Regions from separate parts of the Homo sapiens genome. Here region 1 is linked to region 2. Evidence: promoter capture Hi-C in 16 types of primary human blood cells and fetal thymus (Javierre and others, 2016). All regions are on one chromosome and are shown on one strand. The core of a region is centred on a gene start or on the middle of the fragment in contact, and the rest is flanking DNA. Distances in the headings are between cores, read along the strand shown.

What was found. Contacts are between HindIII fragments. The CHiCAGO score rates a contact against its expected background, and 5 or more counts as called.
Region 1: a fragment that was not itself captured here is called in contact with the fragment with the promoter of AASS in region 2 in 3 of 17 cell types (M0 macrophages, endothelial precursors and M2 macrophages); the score reaches 6.2 in M0 macrophages.

What each region holds. Positions count from the first base shown.
Region 1 is chr7:122,527,420-122,533,962 of GRCh38, forward strand. All of the region lies in intron 8 of CADPS2 (calcium dependent secretion activator 2), which reads right to left. It overlaps LOC105375481 (a long non-coding RNA gene), which reads left to right and starts at 313. Exons shown (of 4, transcript XR_001745347.2): 1 at 313-391; 2 at 3,771-3,869. RefSeq lists enhancers at 1-249, 250-750. The HindIII fragment of the contact is 460 bases long and covers 2,936-3,395 here.
Region 2 is chr7:122,140,936-122,147,624 of GRCh38, forward strand. AASS (aminoadipate-semialdehyde synthase) reads right to left here and starts at 3,314. Exons shown (of 24, transcript NM_005763.4): 1 at 3,226-3,314. It overlaps LOC102724527 (a long non-coding RNA gene), which reads left to right and starts at 3,479. Exons shown (of 6, transcript XR_007060500.1): 1 at 3,479-3,561. RefSeq lists enhancers at 2,138-2,643, 3,645-3,694 and a silencer at 2,945-3,144. The HindIII fragment of the contact is 8,294 bases long and covers 1-6,689 here.

The DNA.
Region 1 (6,543 bases), core at 1,916-4,415, 390 kb after region 2:
AAAAAAAAAAACACAAAACTGTCTGATATTGACAGTTGGAATCTCTGAGGAGACCAAGTAATTCAGTATCTCTTTTCTTTGCCCGAGTTCTGAACAAATTGACTTAAAAGAGTAGACAGAGTACAAAACATCACCTTTAATACTGGTAAAGATAATACTGAATAGAGAGAGAGAGAGAGAGAGAGAGAGAGAGAGAGAGTGTGTGTGTGTGTGTGTGTGTGTGTGTGTGTGTGTTTCCTGCAAGTGGTGGGCTTCCTTATGAGGTTCAGTATTATTATGACACGTATTTTCCCCAGCCCAGTCACAGATAGTGCTAAGAGGACAGGCTGTTCCATGAGAAGATCTTGCCCATGACAGGCTTGTGCAGAATGAACAGAGAACATTCATTACGGTAATGAATATCCCTTACATGGAAGCAAGTATTGGGAATGGAGAATAAATGTTTCCCCCAAAACAGAGAGAGAAGGGTGAAAATAATGAGAGAGACAGACAAACAGAGAAAGAGAGAGAACCTAAATGATTCTCTAAATGGCTAAGTGCCAGGTATAAGATTTACTTTTCTCATTTGTAAAACAAGAATAGCAATATTAGCTCCCTTGCTATAATAGATGGGGTCATTACAAAAATCTGCTGCAATGATGTATGAAAGGGGCCTTTGTAACTATAAAACACAATGTAGATGAAGGCATTAGTGGTGGTGGTGGTGGTGGTGGTGGTGGTGGTGGTGGTGGTGGTGGTGGTAAGCAGAACAGAAAATATTTCAACTTAACTTGTTTGAAGGACTCTTTGGGGTGTGAGGATGGTAATAAACTTTTCAGCTTTGTCCCATTTAAGGAAAAAAGCTTTCCAAGAATGGGGCAAGAATGTAAGTATATCTTTTTCTAAAATGAAGAATACCTACAATGTCACACATTACAACAACAAAAACTAGCTCTTCTTATTCATTAGATAAAAGCAATGTTTCTAAAGAGTACCTGTATTATGTTGCAAGCTACAGAATTTCTTAAGTTCTTAAGAAATTGCTACTTATCAACCAACTAACAAATTCTAGACTACTACAAAAATTATAACGTTCAGCTTCTCTCTCATGTATCTTTATTTAGGGGAGAATGAATAACTAAGTAAAGCCAGTAGTCATAAAGAATCCATGGGCAGTAAGGATGGACTACATAGGACTAGATTTATATAATGTTTCTTTTCCTTTTTAACTTAAAGCTTAAGAATTCCATTTATTTATTTGCTGACAAAACTATATTCACAGTGCTTCTGCTTATGAATGTAGGACACATAAAAATGAAACCAAGATAGTAGGAAAAATAGCTTTTGACATTTACACAACATATTCCAAATTTCAAGTTTTGGATATTTTTTGTTAAAACTGACCTTGTGATATCTTTGATTATTCATAAACTACTAAACATTAAAGTTTTTCTATATTAATTTGATACTTTCTTGACAAGTTTGATATGTCCAAAATGAACTACCACTTCACTTCCTTTTAACCTTTTCTTTTTACATTTTTGAAAAAGAAAATGTGTTGAAAATTACTTAATTCTACTTAAATAAGTGCCACTTTTATTATTAATACCAAGTTTTGTACTTTAAGACAATTATTTTCTATTTGGGGGAATGTTTGCGCCATCTACTGGACATATACATATTATTACTTTTGTCCTACAAGAATTACAATGCCATGTCCAAAGGTACTTGTGAAGTTGTTCCTTATAAACCACTCCGAAACAAAATCTATTCCTTTTCTTTCTTTTTTCTTACGGCACATTTCAGCACAGGAAATCAGTACCTTCCCACCCCAAAAAAGCAACACTAAGATATATTAGTTCAAATAACTAAATATTTCTATTTTAATGGAATCATTTCACAGACTCATACATTCATAGGCATACAAATGAAAGAGGCATAAAAACACATTTGGAGTAAAAGAAATAAGTAAGGCATTTATTTCACTGAAAAAAGTATACCCATCCCTAATTTTACAACTATTATAAGCAGAAATCCTTCTCCTATTACACATAAAACTAGGGATAAAGACTAGAAATCTGTTACATGAACTTGTAGAGGAACAATACTAATTAATAGAAAAGAATAAAAGAGTTAAAGCCAGTCTGGTGGTGTCTCTGGATTTTTCTTAATGAGTAACAACCATTAAATGGAATGGGAGGAAAATCAGCCTTTGGAAGAAAATGACTTTTAAATATATTTTTCCTCCCTGTCTTTTGGATGGCACCATCTAAACAGCAGAATTGAAAAGAAACATAAGATTTATTCAGCTTCAATTAAGAAGGTATGTTATTTTTCCACAGGAAAATAAAATGTGGATCCCGCTTGAAGATCCACGCCAAAATTACATTCCTGGGTATGAGGTTTGATTCAATTGCTGGCACATTTATATCTGCTTTTCAGGGAGATACATAAATAATTGGAAAGTTAACAAGAATTGCACTATAATGTTAATAGATTAGAATCCAAATAATTCTTTAACTCTTCAGAGGTTTTTATTTTTTATTTCCTTCCTTTGATCTACAATTAGAAAACTGGCATGAAAAACTTACTTTAGACTCTATAAGACATATTTTGGAATTAGTGCTATTTGACTCACTTAATATTTACTTTGGGCAGTTTAGAACAGAAGATATCCTCATACTTAATACAAAAATAATGCAGAAGATATTATAAAAGGTAAAGATAAATTACCATGGTAGTTCCTACAAGACAGACTTTCAGACAGATGAACACAGGTGAGTAAATGATCCTTAGTAATCTAAAAATAAAATATATTTGTGAACTCTAAAAAGCACAAAATTCTAACAAATTTCAATATAGTTTTCAACAATAAGCTTTGAAATAAGAAAAGGTTTCCACTTAGGCTTAAGTTAGCTTTTTTTTTTTTTTTTCCCACTAGCTTTCAAGTTAATTAAGCTTCACTCTATCTGAAAGTAAAAACAAATTTTAAAAAGTGAGTAAAATGAGACTATGTTACATTAGGAAATATTCTATGCCATAGTATACTCTACTAATGTTGTTAAAATAACTATCCCCACTGCATTTTATCACCATCATTTTCCTTATAACAACTTACCTTTCAAAAGATAAATTTTCTATATTCTAAGTATTGTGCTTTATGCTTTACATATCTCAGTTAATATAACAATCTTATAAGGTTTCAATTATCACTACAGACAACAGTAAGTTATAACCAACTTCTGATACTTTTAATACTACAAAAGACTGTGCTAAAAACTACACATAACTATTAATACACAATATTCATTAAATATTTATACTTTCTGACTTTGCTACAAGATTCACTTTAGCATTCTATTTAATTTTGAAGCAATGGCTTCCAGCTACCATATATATAAAATTGTCTTCAAGTAAGCTTTTTACCTCTTTTATACGGAGGAGATGGTCTTGATCTCAGAACAACAGGATCAAGACCATTCCTTGTATTCTGGGGAGAGGGACCTCCTGTGCTAGATGCTGGATTGATTGTGAATGGGAAAGTGTTCACATGTATAGAATGCCATCCCTGGTGGGCGTAAGATAGGAATCTTCACTGAGAAAAAACCAACAACAACTAAGAGTTAAGTAGTAGGGAAGCCTCACTGAGGTGCCATTTAAAGTCAGCAATCTTGAGAGAGTACAGTGTCACACTGCAGTAGAGAAACAGCTCAGAATCCATCAGTGACAGCAAGCTGTACTGGTAGTTTATTATATTCTTTGTGATTACTTTCTCATTTGTTGTCCTTTAGCATAAAGACTTTCAGAAGTTCTACACTGCTTTAACTGCAGAGAGCGTCAAAGAAAAGAGTGTCCACAATGGAAGAGAAAGAAGAAGAGGTGAAGTTAGGGTATGTCTGAGGTCAAGCACAGTATTGTGGAAAGGATGTGAGAATCCCCCCAGGAGGGGAACCCTCAGAATTCAAGTTCCAGCCTCACAGTCTAGTCATCTACACCTGCAAGATTCTCCTTCCTAAAACCAGAGGTTTGAAGTTCTTCTCTTAAGGGCAACAGTATTCTCTTTTAGTTGTTCCCACTAACTCTTAAGAATGGGGCAACAAAATTACCTACTTATTAAAAAGAGAATGAGTAGAGTCCCTATACTAATATACTTACAGATAAGAATTCTAAGAATTCTAAAACTGGTCTCAGTTGAGTCTCAATCAGTTTTTTCTAATTGTAAATGGAGATAACGATTGGTTTCCTAATTGCTTCAAAGAATTATCCAGAGGATCAAATGACCCAATATATGTATTATCCCTTGTAATAAGTATAAAGATACTACAGAGATGTTTTAAAAAATACTGTTAGCAGGCTGGGCACGGTGGCTCACTCCTGTTGTCCCAGCACTTTGGGAGGCTGAGGTAGGCAGATCACAAGGTCAGGAGTTCAAGACCAGCCTGGCCAATATGGTGAAACCCCATCTCTACTAAAAATACAAAAATTAGCTGGGTGTGGTGACAGGTGCCTGTAATCCCAGCTGCTCAGGAGGTTGAGGCAGGAGAATTGCTTGAGCCCAGGAGGCGGAGGTTGCAGTGAGCCAAGATCGTGCCATTGCACTCCAGCCTGGGTGACAGAGCAAGACTCCGTCTCAAAAAAAAAAAAAACAAAACAAACAAACAAACAAAATACTGTTAGCCTGTTAGCATTATCTTGACATCTAGGCTATGCCCCGACATTGCAAAAAGTTAGATTTGGGAAATTCTATCAATTGGCTGATTTTTCTACATAATACAACAAATGATTTATCTCAAATTGTTCCTTTTTGAGGAGGAGATAAAAATGACCATTCAACTAACTACTCTGACTTATATGGACACAGTTGCACAATCACGGGCAAAAAAATTACCTTAAGTCTTCAGGCTCATCTATTTATCTATTGCTAATGTAGGTAACTTTCCTAAGAAACACATTTTCTACAATATTCCAAACATATTAATAAGCTAATTGATAACTTAATTTTTAAAGAGTTGGAAATAAAGTATTTCAAATTGCACATATTCTAATTCAGGGGTTTTCAAATGTTAATAAGCAACAAAAATCTTACATGGACAGCTTGTGAATATACACACTGCCGCACTCCGACCTCTCCCCACCCCCACCCCCCTACCCCGCCAACCCCACAACCTCCCAGAGTTCCAGATCGACAGATCAGGCCTGAGAATTTGCATGTTCAAGTTCTCAGGTGATGCTGACGCTGCTGGCCTGGTATCCAGTATCCACACTTTTGAGAACTGCTGTTTTAATCTGTACCTATTCTGAAACTTAAAAAAATGAAAAGAATAAAAGCCAACCATCTCTGTATATTTAAAAGGTATTTTATCTAAAAGTATACAGTTATATTTCCCGAGAGTACGATAAACAATTTTAATGGAAATAAACCAAAATAACATTTTTCTTGTTTGCTTTTTAAATTTGATCATAGTGCCCCCAAGTGGATAAAAACATTACTTACAAAAAAGGAACACTAAACATTTCTCACTGGGATAGGGTTATGCGAATTTATCTTTTTATTTGTCAGAATGCCCAACCTAGTGCTTTGCCCATAACATACTCAGTAACAGGGTTAATACATAAATGCTCCGCACCCCCACCCCCATTTTTAGAAAGGCCTATCACTCTTGCCCTCTAGAGATGTGGGGCTAAGTAACCCTCAAATCTCTTTTAGCTCTTAAATTCCTACATATCTAATATGTAGGATACTGGCAGTTGTCTATTTGTGCCAGATGCTAGAGAAATTCCTTGAAAGAAAATCAATTTTTCTTTCTAGATAAAACCAATAATATCTTTATTAATATGTAGAAATTATTAATATAAAGCAGTAGTTAAAAAAATAGCCTGGAGCTTAAAGGCTTGATAACGACAAATCTCTTTAACAATTAATAATTGTCTTACCTGAATGTATGTAACTCTCTACCTAGCTCCCTGCCACCAGCTAGCATTTTTATATCCATTTCTTTATCATTCTTTTAATTTCAGAAAATACTCTTCTATTTTAAATGTACACCCATGGTCTTAAATTTTTGTAACCACTCAAATCAACAAACTCACACTGCTTAACGGAAGGACAGAAATTCAAAGAATAGAAGCACACCTTTTGGTGGCACCAATATAATGGGGCTAATGAATGCATTTACCTCTTTGTGTTTCCCTTAGCTTCCTTAAGCACATGTATTTCTCATATGAAATATCCAGAAGTCTCATGTTATTTTATGCCAATTAACAAATTGCTAACATGTCATGTTAATAAAAAAAGCAATTGACCTAAGTAGAAGAGCTAATTACATGGAGTAAGATAATTAAACGATTCTCAATATGTAATCAAAAATTATGGCTGGAAGTGTTTCACAATGTTGTCTTTTTGTTTTCAAGTATCTGCCTATCTGCAAAATTCTAATCAGTGTATCCATATGCATAAAAGACAGATCCAGTGCAGATGTTAATTTGTTGCATGATAGAAATCAGGTGTTCAATTACAAATAATGGGGTGTATGAGAGAACGTCCAAGATTTCCATTTAGCCGAA
Region 2 (6,689 bases), core at 2,064-4,563:
GTGTCTGTAAATAAGTATGGCAGCTCTATGGCTATGAGTCTTGGCCTACACTAAGTATCCAAACCATAATATTTTTTGGAGAGGTTCAAAAGAGTTCCAGAATTAACACAGCACCAGATGATGGCCTAGAACTAATCCAAATCCCTCCCAATTTCAAGGCTTGCTAGAACTAGGCTTGGGCTTGCATTAACACTGGTCATACTTTGACTTCCTGTGCGTGGGTACATTCTTTTAATGCTTCCATGTTAAACCCTCTATAAAATACTTTACTGGATTAAGAAGAAAGTGGTAGACTTTGGGGGAGGAGGTCTATTAGTGTTAACTAATCTGGTCTGAGAATTTTCATATTTTCTCCAGCCCATCACCTACTCAAAGTCATCCATAAACATGACACATATTTCTCCTGGTCTCTAGCTTATAATTTTAGCTTCATTGAAATGGAATACAAAGTTAGTTCTAAATCGGAGTCTAGTCCAAAATGCTTATCTGCTTACTTGTCTGTCTCTTTGCTAAACTGCAAATGTGTATGAGTTGTGTTTTACTCATCTCTGTATTCCCAATGACTGGCACATGGGAAAACAGCAAGTGTTTTAAGAAAGAATGAATAAATGAAAAAGCAAATTCAATAAACATTATAAAGACCTATGCAGCAAGAAAACAAACAAACAAACAAACAGATAAAATAGACACATTAATAAGAGACTCACATCCCCCTAACCCTGCAAAAAAAAAAAAAAAAAAAAAAAAAAACTTGATTCTCTTCCAAGATCTCATAGATCAACAAATGTCGTGAAATATAGTACAGTATAGTGGGAAAACTTAGACATGGGAGCTGGGACACATAACTAGATGTAGGGTTCCTCCTCTTGACTTCAGTTTCCTTACCCAGACAAAAATATAATACTAAAGTCCCTTTCAGGCTCTGATATTCTGATTCTATTAAGCATAGTAGTAACTGGACACTGAGAATTACAAAAACATTAGAAATGTAGAACATAAATAGGCACTCTGACTTATGAATTTCTAGCTAAAGTACACCAAACAGGGAAACAAAATACCAAAAACACAATCAAGAAAGAGTGGACATTCACCTAAGCTACCTGCATTAATAGCATGGACCAGGAACCAAGAGCTTGCAACAGAAGATGGATACCTCAAAGGAATACTGGTTTCTCTCCTGGGTTCCTCAGCGGCCAAACTTACTCTGTGACCTTGGCTGGCAACTTAACCTGTCTGTGCATCATGCGCAAAATGAGAATCATATTAACCTCTACCTCTTAGGGCTCTTAAGACGTTTAATTGAGCTAATATGCATAAAGTGCTGAGCATTGCTGTGTGTCATAAACAATAAATTTTAAGAAAAGAAAAAGCCTCCAGGCTTGCCTACTCCTCAAAAGCGAGCACAACCACGCCGCTAACAGTAGACTCACATTTCTTTCCTCTGTCACACTGTAGTAAGACCTTCACGATGGCTCCATATTAATCCCCCACCCTTACATTATTTTGGAAAAAAAATAATTAGAGCCCAATAAGCCCTCTCTTCAACTTCAAACTTCAGGCATGCATGTTCAAGATAAATAAATTACCATTTTAATGTTGTATTTCATCAAATTTAAGACAATTTTTTTACACATTTTAGCATCAGTGAAATAGGGATGCATCTTACAATAGATGACACCTTAGATCAGATGAATGTGGTAATAATGTTTTGGGGTTATTTTCCATTCCAAATGTTTGTTTCCATGATTTCATGAATTGCATAGAATCTTTTGTAGCCTTCCCAAGAAAACTTACCACTGTTTGTAATGTTATTTCTATGAGAAAATTAATAAAAGAATATATGAAAAAAATGAAAATGTTTTGTTAAATGGTGGCTTCTTAAACACCAAAGATCATTTCCAAAATTCCGAACCAAGGTCTGTTAAACGACTAGTGAGAAAAAAAATTCAATGACAAATAAACCAAAGTTCTGATCACGCCATCATCAATAACAAGTGAAACTGATAACAAATATGATTATCTGAAGAGTGGGAAAATGATTCAGGTAAATTGGCTTCAATTTTTGTCCACCTAACTCATTTTGCAGAATGGCCACCAGGTTACACAGTCAAGTCATGTAGCCCTAGATTCACTCATCTTCATGGGAAAAAAAGAAGAGGGGAGTGCAGGGGACAAAACAGACAAACCCAGAAACACCAAAGTGCCATCAGTGTTTTGGGATTTTTTTTAATACAGTATTGGAAAGCCGCAGCTTCAGTCAAGGACCATTCCGTCCTGTGTATAACTACATCTCACAGCTGCACCTTCCCCACTGATAACCCACAACATCAAAAAATGTTAATCCTTGTTCAAGTTACTGAACTAATTCATTCTCTCTCGCGCTCGAGCGCTCTTTCTCTCTCTCTCTTCCGCTCCCCCCACCCCCATTCCCCTGAAATCAATGTCTGAAAAGCACATTTCTTCTTCTGAAGCTGTCAGGATAGACAGACATTCAGCCCCATTCAACCGAGGAGGGTGGGTAAACTGCTTCTCCCCGCGCCCCGTCCCGCGCGAGCGCTCACAATGGGCTGCATAGTCCCGCAGGGGCTGAAGAGTTCAGGAAACCCAGACTTGCAAGGCGCCCAACTTCCACCCATCTCCGATCCTTGCTGGAGAATGGGTCTGTGTCTCGGAGAGTGGGCAGCCCAAGATGGACAAGGAGAGAAGTTTGTGATCAGTTTGGCTAAGCTGGGCGTGGGGAGGGAAGGGGGAAAGAACCACCCCGAAATCTCCATCCACCGCCCCCTCAGCCAGCCGTCCCCTCTAAGCACGCCGTCCACAAATTAACAAGCCGTTGTTTCCTCAGCTTCATCAGTTCTTTATTCCCCAGCCACAGCACCACCACTGTCCGCCAAAAAAGAAAGAAAAGAAATCCGAATTGCAATCCCTCGCCTTTCTACTTAGAAATGCTGGAGCTGCGCTGACCGCTCTCCCTCCCTTCCTCGCAGTGAAACTCTCTGCGTTTCCGCTCTCCCTCCATTCCTCGCAGGGAGGCCCGAATGCTCGCCGCCTTCTCCCTCTCTCGGCCCGGCCGGGGTCGCCTCGCGGCGCCGGGACCCGAAGGCCAGGCTCGCGGGCCCCTCCCAGCGACAGCCCGAGCCCGGCCCGCTATCTCCACCGCATCTCACAGGCTGAGCCCACCCGCGCGTCTGCTCAGCTCTCCGCGGGGACCTCTCCTCTCCTCACCTCGTCCGCTCTGGGGCGCCGACTTGTCCCCCGCCGCCTCGAATCTTCCGAGTCGCTGCAGGGGAGGCTCCGAATTCCTAGAAGAAACTGGGATGGAAGGCCGGGAAGTAGGAGGTGTTTGCTCAACTTCTGAGGACGTCACGCCTCTGCCTCCCGTAGCCAATCAGCAGCCGCCCTGAGGGAACAACCTTCTCATCTGCCAATCGGCGGCGCTGCCAGTTGCTACGTCATGCCCGGCCCCTGCTCCTCCCCAAGATCCTTCTGTCTCTGATCTCTGATCTCTGACCTGCGTTCTTAGCTGGGACGTCGAGTTCTCCCAGGATAATTATCGACCAGGTTTGTAACTGTCCGTGGCAGAAGGCGGGCGGGGACGGAAAGCAACGAAAATAGTCTGGGCATTACGCTCTAAATAGAGGTGCACATCTCCTGGGGAAAAGTTGCGAGCGCCGGTACCTCACGTTTGTTTAGCTATAGACACTTTTCAAAGCATTTCACCGCCTTGTCACAACCCTGTGAAGCCAGATAACAGTTCTTACAACAGTTTTAGAAGCCAGCAAGCGGAGAATCTGAGAAATTAAAACTGAGTGTGTTCATGTGCATATGGCAATGTCCAATGTTATTGAAAAGTCCTAACTACCTAGGAGGCCTGGAGGGAGGGGGAAAACGTATTTCATAGACACTAGCCCCAGCACTAGGAACTGAAGAATCGTCTGAAGCCCAGCTGTGATTCCCCAAGGCGTCAACGGTCAGAAGTTAATCTTCCCTCCTGTTTTTACAACTTTCTCCACCACTTACTCTTCTTATACCTGCCATAGATGTATTTAGCTACTGAACTCCTATGTCAACAATCTATAGCCAGAACGTTCTTGAGACTCCACTCATATCTCCAATTGCAGAGAAAATTATTTATTTATTTATTTGTGGTAGACATGGGGTCTCGCTGTGTTGACCAGGACACTGGTCTGGAACTCCTAGCCTCAAGCTATCCTCCCACCTCGTCCTCCCAAAGCACTGGGATTACAGGTGTTAGCCACTGTGCCCAACCCCAAATTAGAATTTTATCTGTAAGTAGAGTTGGAATTTTCTTCTGTATCTTCAGCTTCACATTTCCAAAATCGGATCCCTTATCATTCTTGGAAAGTCTTCCAAAGGCTGTGTAGTGGTTCACACCTGTAATCTCAGCACTTTGGGAGACTGAGGCTGGAGAATCACTTGAGCCCAGGAGTTTAAGACTAACCTGGGCAACGTAGCAAGACCTGTGTCTACTAAAAATAAAAATAATAAAAATAAATAAAATTTTAAAAAGCCAGGTGTAGTGGCACATACCTGTGGTCCCAACTACTTAGGAGGCTAAGGTGGAAGGATCACTTGAGCCGCAGGATGTTGAGGCTGCAGTGAGCCATGATCATGCCACTGCACTGTAGTCTGGGTGACAGAGTAAGACCCTGTCTCAAAAAATAAAATAAAATAAAGCCTTCCCTTTTGTGCTCACCAGCTCTGTTACTAATATCACTGCCTTCCTACTCACCACCTATCCAGACTTAAAAAGCCACGGTCACTTCAGTTCTTCCTCTGGCCCCTCAGCCTTACCCTTGGTGTTGACACTGTCCTTTAAAAACCCCACTACTATCACCCTACTTCAAACCCCTTTTTATATATAACGTAGACCATATTTTTTTAAGCATACAACTCCAATTGTCTCATTGGCCTAAGCAAAAAGCCTCAGAGACTACCCAGTACTTGTGGAACATTAGCCCAACGTTCTTCACATAATGTTAGTTGCTTCAGATGTGGCCAAAATCAATGACCTTGGCTTTATTTCTGCAGCAGAACCAGCCTGAAACCACCACTGAAACACAATTTATGCCTTGCTATCTTCCTAAGGATTAAGCATCTGGGTAAGAATGTAAGAATCCTTACTCTTCTCCTTTGAGTTGTAAATCATGGGCAAGTTACTTAGTTTTCAAAAAAAGCCTGTGCTCCATTATCTGTTAATGGGTTAATAATAGCCACTACTTCGTGGAGTCATGAGAACAAAATGAGATAATGGCCAAAGTGCCCTGTTAATTGTCTCACTGAAGAAACTGGAAATCATTATTTATTTTCCTCCAAATACCTCATGTTGTAGACTTATCTGTAATTCTAATTTACAAAAATATTCACCTTTCTAAAACTAACCAGCCCTTTGGGGTTCAGCTCAAATGCCACTTAAATAATGAAAACTTTCCTGAATATTTCAACCACATGTGATTGTTTCCCTTCTCCCTTGTGTATTGGCCTCTCTTATTGTACTTATCACATTCTTCCTTTTATCACAGTTATTCATACTTACCTTATCCACATTGCTCAGCTCACCTGTCATCACCACCATAAAATAAGAATATGTACGTGGACTTCCTCTTTTCTTTTCTTTTCTATTTATTTATTGCTTCTAGTACGATGCTATGCGTGTAATAAGTCAGTTGGGGTCTTAGCAGGAAATAGGTGGCACAATCCAACTGGGTAAATTAGGAGACACAAAAGGACTGAGTGTATGCAGGGATAAAGGAAAGTGGCAGTATATGTGCCATGTAGTCCCTGGGACTAGCAACACTGACAATCACTCGTAGGCCTAAACAGGGCCAGGGAAAGAAATAATTACCAGAACTCAGGAATAGTTCTACCTGTAGTGTAGCTGTAGCTGTAGCTGTAGAGAGTGCCATTCAACCAACAGTAGTGGTTTGTGACAGGAATAAAGCTGCCTAAAGATTAATCCTGCCGGCCGGGCACAGTGGCTCATGCCTGTAATCCCAGCACTTTGGAATGCCAAGGTGGGCAGATCACCTGAGGTCAGGAGTTTGAGACCAGCCTGGCCAACATGGTGAAACCCTGTCTCTACTAAAAATACAAAAATTAGCCAGGCATGGTGGCAAGGGCCCGTAATCCCAGCTACTTGGGAGGCTGAGGCAGGAGAATCGCTTGCACCCGGGAGGAGGAGGTTGCAGTAAGCCGAGATGACACCACTGCATTCCAGCCTGGGTGACAAGAGTGAGACTCCATCTCAAAAACAAACAAAAAAAGATTAATCCTACCTGAAGAGGAACCTACCTAAGGCAGGGGTCAACAAACTTTTTTCTGTAAAGGGCCAGAAAATAAATATTTTAGGCTTCACAGATCATACCATCTCTGTCATGTCATGACTACTCAACTCTGCTGGCTGGAATGTAAAAGGCAGCTATAGGCCATATTTAAATGGATATGTGTGGCTGTGTTTTGATAAAACTTAATTTACAAAAGTAGGCTGCAGGGCAGATAGGGCCTCTGGGCTACAGTTTGCAGACCCCTGTTCTTCCATAGGGAAGGAATAATCTTACTTCACTCTCCTCCTGCCCCTTCATCTCCTGCTGATGGCTTCTACTATTTGGACATAAATAGAGCCAGATTGTTAGTGAAGTCCAAAAAGATCACCTCCCATTCTGGGGGCA